Regions from separate parts of the Homo sapiens genome. Here region 2 is linked to region 1. The links are contacts of gene promoters, found by promoter capture Hi-C in blood cells and fetal thymus (Javierre and others, 2016). All regions are on one chromosome and are shown on one strand. Each heading gives the region's core, a stretch centred on a gene start or on the middle of the fragment in contact. The rest is flanking DNA. Distances are from core to core; before and after follow the strand shown. Region 1 holds the start of RAB20 (RAB20, member RAS oncogene family). Region 2 overlaps ARHGEF7 (Rho guanine nucleotide exchange factor 7).

Region 1 (6,382 bases), core at 1-2,500:
ACCTGACATGCCAGGGCTGAGCAGGTACGAAATACCTTGGCATTCCTGCCTTGTCGGAGTCTCAGGGCACCTACGAAGGAGGCAACGGGCCTATTTCCCTTTACAGGACACCTTCAGGACACGGGTTTTAACCTGCTCAGGGTCTCATCGCCTTTCCCAGCCAGGCCAGCGGCCAGAGTGACACTGTCCCCCAGGGTTTAACTTAGAGTCCATTCTACCTCTCATTTTCTCTAAAAAACCCCAACCAACCAACTAACCAAATTCTACACGCTGCATATTTTAAAAGCATTTCAAGGTTTATCCTTTAAAACGGAAGGAGGACCTGGGAGGCCGAAGCGGGTGGATCACGAGGTCAGGAGTTCGAGACCAGCCTGGCCAACATGGTGAAACCCCGTGTCTACTAAAAATACAAAAATTAGCCGGGCATGGTGGCACATACCTGTAATCCCGCCTACTCGGGAGGCTGAGGCAGGAGAATCGCTTGAAACCGGAAGGCGGAGGTTGCAGTGAGCCGAGATCGCGCACTGCTCTCCAGCTTGGGCAACAACAGCAAAACTCCGTGTCAAAAATAAAAAAAAAAAAAAAAAAAGAAGGAGGAAATATTTCTCAAGTAGCGACTGCAACTTCCATAGTCAAATTTTCATTCCAAGCTATAAATGGAGATGACTGTCCACTTTTCAGGACAAAAAGCTTCTTGCAAAAGTAGAAGAGCAAAAGCAAAATCCTCCACTAGAAAGCGCCCCCATCTCTAATCTGTAACAGTGAGAGCCTCAGGACGAGTTCCGCAGACGCTCATTTAAAGCAAACTTTTTCAATGACCTTGAGGGTGGCTGTACTTACACGCGGAGAAGCAAATCGACCGCAGCTGGAAAGGCGCTGGGTCGAGCGTGAGAGGAACACGGGTTTTACCTAAGGGAGAGTGGAAGAGAGAAGGGGGTTCCCCAAGGGCCCCGGCCCCTTCGCCTCGTTCGGGCCCCGCGGCCAAGCTCCTCGCACCGCAGCCCCGGCTGTGCAGAAGCGGAGGGGCGGAAGGTGCTCTCAGAACTTTCATTTTCCACCCTGCAGCAGTCCCGAGCCTCGGCTGGAGAACTCGGATGCTTGCGAAACGGCGAGGTCCAGCAGGGGCGGGACGGGGGCGGTGGGCGGAGGAGGATAGGGCGGGGCCGCGGCGGTGAAAGGGCCCGGGGGCGGGGGCGGGGGCGGGGCGAGGCGAGGCCGCCGCGGTCCGGGCCCCCGACGTGGGCTCCGTGCTCTGCACCCAGCTCCTTCCCGGGCGCGCACACGCGCTTCCTCTCTTGAGCTCCCGGGCGTCCGGAGGCGAAGGTCCCGGAGCGTTCACGAGAATCCGGGTCCCGGCGAGTCCGGGGTCCGCTCCTCCAGCTGCGCCCAGGGCGCACGAGCCGGCCAGCCTCGGGGAGAGGGCGCGGGGGCGCTGGGGGTTCTTACGGGAAGATGAGGAAGCCCGACAGCAAGATCGTGCTCCTGGGGGACATGAACGTGGGGAAGACGTCGCTGCTGCAGCGGTATATGGAGCGGCGCTTCCCGGACACGGTCAGCACGGTGGGCGGCGCCTTCTACCTGAAGCAGTGGCGCTCCTACAACATCTCCATCTGGGACACCGCAGGTGAGGCCGGCGCCGCATGAGCCACACCGCCCTGGGGCTCCGCCGGGGACGGGGGGCGCGGGGCTTCCAGCAGGGCACCCGGCCGCGCACAGGGTCCCGGCCTCGGACAGCAAATGCCTCCTTCTCGGGGTTTCCCACTCGTCCTCCCTTGCTGGTTGGGCTGAGCGCTGCCTCTCAGCCACTCAGTGACCTCAGGGACAACCCAAGTTGCAGAGAACCCGCTGGTCATTTGTGTACCTAAGCTGCCTTTGCTCCCGAGCCCCGCGTTCCTGCTCTGCCGCCCTGGGAACCAGAGACGCTCCTCTGTGGCTGCTTTGTTAGGTATTTTCAGTTTTCACGTACCCGTAGGAACATGATATCCTTTGAGATTCACTTGAGGGGTGAGCAGAGCTGGTGTTATTAGCCCCTTTCTAAGAAAAAGTAAAATGAGGCACAGAGTGTTCCCCCCTGTTGGGTTTAGTCAGGAGAGAGGAAATAAAACTGGAGCCTCCGGACCTCTTAGCCCGGAGCATATCTGCCTTTTACAGTTAATCTTCTGCTTGATCTTGGCTCAGATACGTCATATGGGTTTGGGTTGGAGTGACTTCCGGTGGAAGCATTTTTAAGATAGGTAATGAGTTATTTTTATTGTGTAGTATTTGTGACTTTTCAAAAGTACAACTTAGAGGATCTCAATTCAGGCTTTCTGTTTAACTTTGGAAAATAACACTGGTGATTGTAGCATTGCAATGGAATATATTTCCTTCTCCTTACAAAAGAATAAGATATTGTAAGTGAATGAAGAAACTGGAAATAGTGTGACACATTTTCAATGAGTGTGAGTTTTTAGAAGCCTGAAACTCTGAAAGTTCTGACTTCTTTTATGTTAGCATCTTAAAAAGTCATATACCCAAAGGCCCCGTCCAGAATTCTTAAATTGCCATCTTGGGTGTATCAGTATGCTGAATAAACAAGATGATAATGAATTCTCTCTTTAAAACTGAATTAACGAAGCTCACAGAGGTACTTCCAGTTCTCCCCCTCCCTTTTGCCTTCTTTGATGCTTTTTTATTATTATCCCAGTTAACATCGTGACTAATTTATTGGCAATCATCTTGTGAAAACAATGTCCCCCAGGTAAAGAGGTGCATTTCCCTGATCTTTGCTCCAACTCTGTCTTCTGCCTCAGGCTGCAGGATGAGGTTTACTGAGCTGACTCCCTCACACTGAGCATTTGGTAACGATGGAACACACGCTCTAGAAGTCAAATCGAACCCAATTCACGAACCCAATTTGCTTCTGTACAAAGTCAAATTGAACCCAATTTGGTTTTGTACAAAGCTTTGCCCCTCTGCTGCTTTTGCTGGTTGGCTGGGATTTACTGCTGCCCTTGGTTTACAAGTAGCAAGGTTAATGCAGGAGTGTTATTGGGGGACCCTAACCGAAACCCCTGTAGTGGCCACCGTTGGAGGCAGACTCTTAACACACGGTGTGTTTCTGGAACAAGAGCTGCCCTGCAGTGCTGGAACGGCCCCTGCATCGGAGGGAATGAAGCAGCAGTTTCGTTTCCACTGGCCTCTTGCTTCTTCAGCACCAAGGACGTGATGCAGCCGGAATCCTGATCACCAGAGATTTTGCAGTTGTGCTGATGTGACGCCCCAGATGTCTTGAAGCGTTACTGGGGGGCAGCAGCTCATTTCCTGGCATCCGAGGCTGCTGCTGCTTGTTCGAAAGATCCTAAGGGTGAATTACTAGAGCTCCTCAGAACAGAGAGTGGCCAGGCCCCTTCTCCACATTCCTGACTTCCTGTGTACACACTCAGGCGGCCCTTGCCCAGAGTTGGCAGGGACACAGGGCACCCTTGCCTGCCTCCTCGGTGGCCTGTGGCCTGACCGGGTACTTGAAGGGAAAAGAGAGGTAGGAACAGATACCTTTTCTATAATTGTTGGAAATTCAGAATTTAACATTTAGGGGACCCTGTTCTTTTCCTTCTTTTGCTGAGCTCCTAAACTTTCTCTCCACCCCACAGACATTGCTTTTCAAGTTGTTTTTGTTGTAATTGTCATAACCGAGGCAGAATGGTAAGGACCAGCCGGAGGAGGAACCATTTTGAAAGTTGCTTTTAGCCACACAAGGCAGGGTGGGCTGGGGTGGGGGTGCAGGTGTGCAGAGGGCGACAGGATGTTTAATAGTAAAAACGATTGCATGGGGGTCAGTGTACACCCAATGCCTGGCTGCTTGTAGCCTGCAAGGCAGGCAGTGGATGGAGCTGAAGAGGGGGAAGAGAGTTGGCAGGGCAGAAGTACATTACCCTATTCCATTGACACAACAGTCCTCCAGAGGGAGGTGTGATTATTTGCATGTTAAAGATGGGGCCAGGCGTGGTGGCTCATGCCTGTAATCCCAGCACTTTGGGAGGCTGAGGTGGGTGGATCACGAGGTCAAGAGATCAAGACCATCCTGGCTAACATGGTGAAACCCCATCTCTACTAAACATACAAAAGTTAGCAGGGCGTGGTGGCGCACACCTGTAGTCCCAGCTACTCGGGAGGCTGAGGCAGGAGAATCGCTTGAACCAGGAGGCAGAGGTTGCAGTGAGCCAAGATTGTGCCACTGCACTCCAACCCGGTGACAGAGCGAGACTCTGTCTCAAAAAAAAAAAAAAAAAAAAAAACAGATGGGAAGACAGGGCTGCGCGGTGGCTCATGCCTGTAATCCCAGCACTTTAGGAGGGTGAGGCGGGCAGATCACCTAAGGTCAGGAGTTCAAGACCAGCCTGGTTAATGTGGTGAACCCGTGTCTACTAAAAATACAAAAATTAGCTGGGTGTGGTGGCTGGCGCCTGTAATCCTAGCTACTTGGGAGGCTGTGGCAGGAGAATCGCTTGAACCCTGGAGGCGGAGGTTGCAGTGAGCCAAGATTGCGCCATTGCACTCCAGCCTGGGTGACAAGAGTAAGACTCTGTCTCAAAAAAAAAAAAAAAAAAAAGTGGGAAGACAGCAGAAGTTAAGTGGGATTTAGACCTTGGTTCATCCAACTCCAACTCACCTTGTCTCATTATGCCCTTTTAGGGGGCACTTGCCACTCCCAGCCCTTGTCTAATTGGGCACACAGATGTGGAGTGGTTGCTGTGCATGGGTGGGTACATCCAGGAAGCAAAAGGAGGTTGCCCAGCGAGGAGGCAGAGCCCTAGAAGACGTACTGCTGTGCTCCTCTGTGTTGCCCGGTTGCTCAGGACAGCCTAAAGTGGTGTTGCCTGTTGTTGGCAAATATAAACTGAGGCTCCCCGGTGCCGGGCACTGTTTGGGCCCTCGTTCTACAGCAGTGAGCAGGCCGGCTGGCCGCTGCCCCGCAGGCCCTGGATTCCAGAGGAGGGGGAAAGGCAGGCAAGAAGTGAATGGTACAGCTTCACATCTGATCGTTGCTCTGAAGAAAATACGACAGGCTGATGAGAAAGCGGCTGGTGTGCCCAGCACAGACCTGGTCCCCAGAGCCCTGGAGACAGAATGCTCTCCACATTTGTTTTCCTTCCCTTCTAAAGGCCGTGGCCTGGCGGCCGGGAGGCGGGGGGAGCAGGGGCATTACCTGACTCACGTTTGCATCCCCAGCACCTGGCCCTTGAAGAGCCAGCTTGGAAGGCGGCGGGGAGCCCAGACTTGCGCCACTTCCCTGTGCCGGCATCCAGCTCCAGCTGCGTCTCTGGGGACTGGGTGTTGGAGAGAGTGAGTGCATTTTGCATGTGGAATGGATGCACGTCTGTGGGAGCCTGAAGCCAGGCTGTGACAGACAGAATAGTGGCCACCGCAAAGATGAGACATCTTGGTCTCTTGAGAGTCCTCTGGCCTTTGGGTCCTTCTGAGGCACCAGCAGAAGGTTATGTGGCCACACCAGGGCCTCCTCTCCAGCACAGGCGTTCCGGATGGTGGGCCTCCTAGTGTGAGCCTCCCAGCAATCTGCCTGACTGAGGACTTCCCACATCACCAAGTCCTGCTCCTCTTTGTTCGACAATTCTTCCCTCATCCTATCTGTTCTTCCTCATCTTAATATAAACAGCAAGAAAAATCCACACCTTCAACACTTTGCTTGGAAATCTCCTCAGCTACATATCCAACTTCATCACACAGTGATGCTTCCCTCACAGCTGTGGGGCACGACTCAGCTGAGCTCTCTGGCACCACATCCTCCCTCCTCCAGCTTCTGATAACACAGTCCTCATTCAGACCCCAGGCTTCCACCTGTAATTGGCTCCTTCTGGTGGAGGTGTTCACTACGAGGATGCAGGTTTTCTCTGCTATGCTTCTCGCTTCCTTCTGATTCCTCACCAGCAGGGCTGTTCATGTGCACCTTCCTGCCAACCATCTGTTTAGGCCAATCCGGGCTGCCCTCTCATGATCCTCAGATCCTCCCAGATCTGCCATTGCCCAGTTCTAAAGCCACTTCCATATTCGTGACAGCCTCTCTCTGCTCCCAGTTCCAAAGTCTGTGTCAGTTTCCTATTGCTGCTATAACAAATTAGTTACTTAAAACAACACAAATTTGCTGGGCATGGTAGCTCCTGCCTGTAATCCCAGCATTTTAGGAGGCTGAAGTGAAAGGATCACCTGAACCTAGGAGTTCAAGACCAGCCTGGGCAACACAGGGAGACGGTTTCTACAAAGAATAAAGAAGTTAGCCAGGTGTAGTGGTGCGCACCTGTAGTCCCAGCTACTTGGGAGGCTGAGGTAAGAGGATTTCTTGAGCCTGGGAGGTTGAGGCTGCAGTGAGCCATGATCATACCAC
Region 2 (6,128 bases), core at 2,430-4,929, 600 kb before region 1:
GTGGTACAGAAATGTCCATTGCACAGTCCACTGTTCACAACCGTGGAAACTTAGAATCCACCTCTGTATCCAAAAATGGGGATTATTACCAGGAACTAAGAGGCAGCCATTAAAATCAGTAGTAAAATAATTATTTAACATGGGAAAAGACTCACACTGGATCAAATTAAAGCATGTTATAAAACATTACATGTATCTATGATGTCATGGATATTTTAAAAATATATTTACATATTTGCAATGGTTAAAAAAAAAATTACCAAAAAAGAAATACTAATTTTAACACTGGTATCTCTAAACGGTAGCATTATACAGCTTTTCATTTTCTTCTTACATAGCTCTATTTACTGCAGTTTAAAAAATGAATATGGAACCCTGGGTAAAGATTTAAAATATACCATATGGCTCCAACTACACGAAAGAATAATAATGCAAATGATAATAACAGCTATTGTCTCTTTGGCACCTCCAACTTACCAGGCACTGTTCTAAGAGTTTTGCATGAATTTATGTAATCCTCACGACAGACACAAAGGGCAAGCACGTGTGACACCCATTTTCCTGATGGCACAGCTGGCGAGTGGCAACACAGGACAGCAACCCAGGAAAGGGGTTGGGGTCAGGCACTACATTCCCTCCCCCTATACCGTCCCCCGCAAAGCAAATACCTGATAATCATGGGCAGCTACCAGGAGTGAGCAATAACCCTGAATCAAAAAAGGAGAAATCAGCTGAAGATCAAAGTCACAATTACTAGCTGTGAGTGTGCCAAGCTAACCATTTAGCACCCATGCCACAAGCATGCTCTGTGCTACTCAGCATCATGTACACATTCTCAGAAGTGACACAAGTTGACATCAGAAGTGTTTTGTATTTCAGATTTAGGGATATTTTCATTATAGTTATCAGTTGAGCATCTCAAATCCTGAAAATCCAAAACACTCCAATGAGCATTTCCTTTGAGTGTCACATTGGTACTCAAAGAATTTCAGATTTTGGAGCATTTTGGATTTTCAGGTTTGGCATGTACATTAGTCCACGTTCACACTGTTACAAAGACATACCCAAGACTGGGTAATTTATAAAGAAAAGAGGTTTAAATGACTCACAGTTCCACATGGCTGGTGAGGCCACAGGAAACTTACAATCATGGCGAAAAGCACCTCTTCACAGGGCAGCAGGAGACAGAAGGGTGAGGAGCAAAGGGGGAGGAGCCCCTTATAAAACCATCAGATCTCCTGAGAACTCCCTCGTTATCACAAGAACAGCATGGGGGAAATCACCCCCATGATCCCATCTCCTAGGATTCTACTGGATCCAGCACTGTCCAATAGATTTTTTTTTTCTTTGTAGAAATGAGGTTTTGCCACGTAGCCCAGGCTGATCTCTAACTCCAAATCTCATCTTGAATTGTAATCCCCATAATCTCCTGGGTCTCTCCCTAGGTCTCTCCCTAGACGTGGGGATTATGCAGATTACAATTCAAGATGAGATCTGGGTGTGGACACAGGCAAACCGTATCAGTCAGCATGCTTAACCTGTACTGTTAAAACATCCAAGGTGATCCACAGATTCAATGCAATGTCTACCAAATTTACAATGGTATTCTTCACAGATATAGAAAAACAATCCTGAAATTCACATGGAATCACAAAAAAAAAAAACCCCAATAACTAAAGCATTCTTGAGTAAAAAGAACAAAGCTGGAGGCATCACACTACCTGATTTCAAAGTGTATTACCAAGCTATAGCAGCCAAAACAGCATGGCACTAGCATAAAAGCAGACACACAGACCAACAGAGCAGAATAGAGAGCTGAGAATTAAACTCACATGATACAGTCAATAGACCTTTGACAAAGGTGCCAAGAACACCCAATGGGAAAAGGACAGTCTTCAACATATGGTGCTGGGAAAATTGGATATCCACATGCAGAAAAATTAAATTGGAACCTTGTCTCACAACACATACAAAAATGAACTCAAAATGGACTAAAGACTTAAATGTAAGACCTGAGACTATGAAACTACCAGAAATAAGCACCATGGAAAGCTCCAAGACATTGGTCTGGACAATGAGTTCTTGGATATGACCCCAAAAGCACCGAAAACAGAGGCAAAAATAAGATAAATGGGATTTCATCAAACTGAAAAGATTATGCACAGCAAAACAGAATTAAGAGACAACTCACAGAACGGAAAGAAAGTATTTGCAAACCATACATCTGATAAGAAGCTAATATCCAAAATATATTTAAAAACTCAGTAACAAAAAAAAACCTGATTAAAAAATGATGAGCAAAGGACCCAAACAGACATTTCTCCAAAGACATACAAATGGCCAACAGATTAGAAAATGTTCAACATCACTAATGATCAGAGAAATGCACATTCAAATCATGAGAGCATCTCACAACTGTAGAATGGCTATTATCAAAAAGATGAAAGGCGACAGGTGTTGGCAAGGATGTGGAGAAAAGATAAGCCTTGCACATTGTTGGTGGGAATGTAAATTCCTGAAGCCATTCTGGGAAACAGTATGGAGGTTCCTCCAAAATCTAAAAACAGAATTATCATATGATCCAGCAATCCCACTACTGGGTATATAGCCAAAGAAACTAAAATCAGTATGTTGAAGAGATGTCTGCACTCCCATTTTCATGGCAGCACTATTCACAACAGCCAAGATATAAAATCAATCTAAGTGTCCACTGAAAGATGAGAGAATAAAGAAAATGTGGGATATATACACAATAGAATACTAGTCAGACTTTTAAAAAAAGGAAATCCTGTTATTTGCAACAACAATGAATGAACCTGGAGAACATTGTGCTAAGAGAAAGCAGGGCACAAAAAGACAAATACTGCACGATCTCACCTATATGTAAAGTGTAAAAAAGCTGAACTCACAGAAGCAGACAAGAGAATGGTGGTTACCAGATGCTGAGGAGGCTGGGAAGGAGGAAACAGGAGCTAGACAGGGAAAGGGGAGATGTTAGTCAAAGGGTACAAAATTTCAGTCGGACGGGAGGAATAAATTTTAGTGATCTATTGTACAGCAGGTGACTACAGTTAACAATAATTTAAAGTATATTTCAAAATTGCTAAAAGATTAGATTTTAAATGTTCTTACCACAAAGAAATAAGAAGTATGTGAGGTAACGGATATGTTCATTCCCGACTTAATCATTCCACAATGCATTCATATACCATAACATAATGATGTTACTCCATAAATACATGCAACTATTTGTCAATTTAAAAACAAAATATAAGAATTAAAGAAAAGAAACTGGATATGAGGCAAGCTTTATGTGACTAGCTGGTCTACATTTCATGCTCTGTTGATCTGAGAGACCAAAAGCCAACCAAAAACTTCCAAGGGTGAGGATGAGAAAAGAGCAGATTTCTGTTCTGAACCACCTGGGCCTTTGGATGCTTTCCACTTTTCCAGAAAAACAGTTAAATAAATGAACAGCAACTGTGAAACCTGCAGATAATTTTAGTATTAGTTGCAGTGCCAAGGAGCTGGAAAGATCAATTATTAATATATTAGGGTTACCATCCCTATCATATCAAACATAACTATTCCAGAAATGGTCTATGACAAGAAAGAGCTGTGGTTTCCTTACACTTGACAAATTGGCTTTATTCCCTCTTGGCAACTATGAGAACAGGCTCACCCAGTTTCATCTGAAATGTTTTGTTTTCCTTTCAAGTAGTGATGGTAACACTGTATGTGAGCCCACAGTCAATTCTTAAGCAAAAAAGCCTCATTAATATCAAACTATCCATCAAGATTACCCTTTTCTATTATGTATGAATATAGCTAAGTATCAAGAACAGTAGACATCTTTCTTTCAAACAGAACTAAGTTAAAATCCATAGCTTTATTATAATAATTTTGTTGCTAATATTCCTGAAACCACGTTATTAATGTGAGCTTAATAATGTATCAATTAACTGGAATCTTATATCCTTAACTTTCAGCTCTTGAAATAAAAAACTGGTAAACATGTTACAGGCGTGATGGCTTTAACCAAACAAGCTTTCTCCTAGGAACATAAAATCTGCTTTTGCCAGTTACATTTCACCTGCTTCCCTAGTTGTCAGATGCCTAATCAGACAATGTTGCATAGGGTGGGAACATCTTGGAAGCTAATTCATTGTGACCTTTTCAGTGAACAAGCATGTGCACACACACACATGCACACATACACATCCTACAGTAGCTACAACACTTGAATCAGAATTCCACAGTAACATAGCAAAATACTGGAAACAGAAATCACTCTGAATTTCTCTGTAGCTGTTTACCTAAGAAAATGCAAAGAAATGTCCTATCACTTGCTTGGTTTGCCTCAGTAAGTTACTTATCCTCAAGTGAAATTCTACAAACATCATCATCATCATCATTTTTTTTTTCTTTTTTTGAGACGGAGTTTTGCTCTGTTGTCCAGGCTGGAGGGCAGTGGCGTGATTAGTAGAGATGGGGTTTCACCATGTTGGTCATGCTGGTCTCAAACTCCTGACCTAAGGTGATCTACCCGCCTCAGCCTCCCAAAGCGCTAGGATTACAGGCATGAGCCACTGCACCCAGCCAACATCATCATTATTCTTATTAATAATTATTATTTTGGTTGCTTTTGAGATACAAATAGAAATTGTGTGCCTAGGGGTTTTTTGCCCTAACTGGAAAAAAAAAAAAAATTTAAGCATGCCAAGTAAAAAAGTTATAAGAAAATGAAGTCATCCAAGTTGCACTGCTTTCCAACAGTAATTAAATTTTTTTAATTTTCCAAATTTCAAAGTTTTCCAGCTTAAAACCCAGTGCTTCTCAAAGTTTACCAATAAATGCGACTCACACAATATTCCTTTAAAACCAATTTATAAAAATATTTTCATAATCAAAACAATTGGGGGATAATATCTGATTTTCTACAGGTAATTAAGGAGGGCATGCACCAAAACAGCTGACATATTAACCAAGTTTACTTCCTTTTTCCCTTTAACAAATCTTAGCAGAGCTTAAACTGACAGTAAATAAGAATATATACACCAAAAACAATCTGTTACAAACACAATTCAGTCTAAACTAACCCCTGGAAGAAAAGCACCTTGACATTTACAACTATAGAACAAAAGCTAATCTAGAATTTAAGCTATTAGTTTTAAGTTTTGTGTCTGTAGTTTCAAAACATTTCTTATCAATTTCCCACCTTTCAGAATTTTGTGAAAATGAAATGTGTAAATCCCACAACATATTTCACAAGTGCAAGGCCCTTCCCTCCTGACTCCCTAAGCAATTCTTAAACACTGGGAAATTGCTGCACTGTGGCCCGCATGGGAGATGACCAAGTCCTTCAGGGCCCAGCCCTGTCCCTTCACATCACCTTACAAGGCTGGAAGCCAGAGCTGGATGCATAGCATACAAAATGACTTCTCAGGGTAACTTCCCAAAAAACACAATGACTGAACAATTTATCAGGTTTTTCATGTGCTGTTTTCATATTTTCATTTTTATTATCTCCTAGGTAATTACAAGTGTGACTCACACTAAGCTTGAAGAATGCTAACATTTGCCTCTTGCTTAAATTTACTGGAAGAGATATTTACTCTTTAAAAATAGCACAAAATAAGTCAAAACTAATTTTTTACTTTAAAATGAAACTCACTTGCTATCACTTACAACCTCAAGTTCATTCTATTAGTAACAAATATTTATTGAAAGCCTATTATGTGCCAAGCACTATTGTAGATGCTTGGAATATGTTAGTGAAAACTCTCTTCCAGAAAACCTTCAAATAAACTCTTAATTATAAAAACAATAGTTACTGTATGAAATGTCAGCAACCTTTGGAAAACTAAAAACGGTAAGTTTTTAACATTCAATTTACTTTTTTTTTTTTTTTTTTTTTTGAGGGAGTCTTGCTCTGTCACCCAGGCTGGAGTGCAGTGGCAATCTCAGCTCACTGCAACCTCTGCCTCCGGGGTTCAAGGGATTCTCCTGTCTCAGCCACCTGAGTAACTGGAACTACAGGTGCACGCCACCACGCCGGGCTAATTTTTGTTTTTGGGTTTGTTTAAGTATAGACAGGGTTTCACCATGTTGGCCAGGCTGGTCTCGAA

The links. Contacts are between HindIII fragments. The CHiCAGO score rates a contact against its expected background, and 5 or more counts as called.
Region 2: a contact is called between a fragment that was not itself captured here and the fragment with the promoter of RAB20 in region 1, in 1 of 17 cell types (monocytes). The highest score is 6.7, in monocytes.

Annotation. Positions count from the first base shown.
Region 1 is chr13:110,556,590-110,562,971 of GRCh38, reverse strand. It overlaps RAB20 (RAB20, member RAS oncogene family), which reads left to right and starts at 1,250. Exons shown (of 2, transcript NM_017817.3): 1 at 1,250-1,624. The coding sequence starts at 1,453. RefSeq lists silencers at 1,121-1,570, 1,462-1,651, 1,631-1,690 and enhancers at 4,532-5,054, 5,055-5,578. The HindIII fragment of the contact is 2,254 bases long and covers 693-2,946 here.
Region 2 is chr13:111,155,871-111,161,998 of GRCh38, reverse strand. All of the region lies in intron 2 of ARHGEF7 (Rho guanine nucleotide exchange factor 7), which reads right to left. Among named protein-coding and RNA genes, the nearest start is that of ARHGEF7-AS1, 10 kb to the right of the region's middle. The HindIII fragment of the contact is 740 bases long and covers 3,310-4,049 here.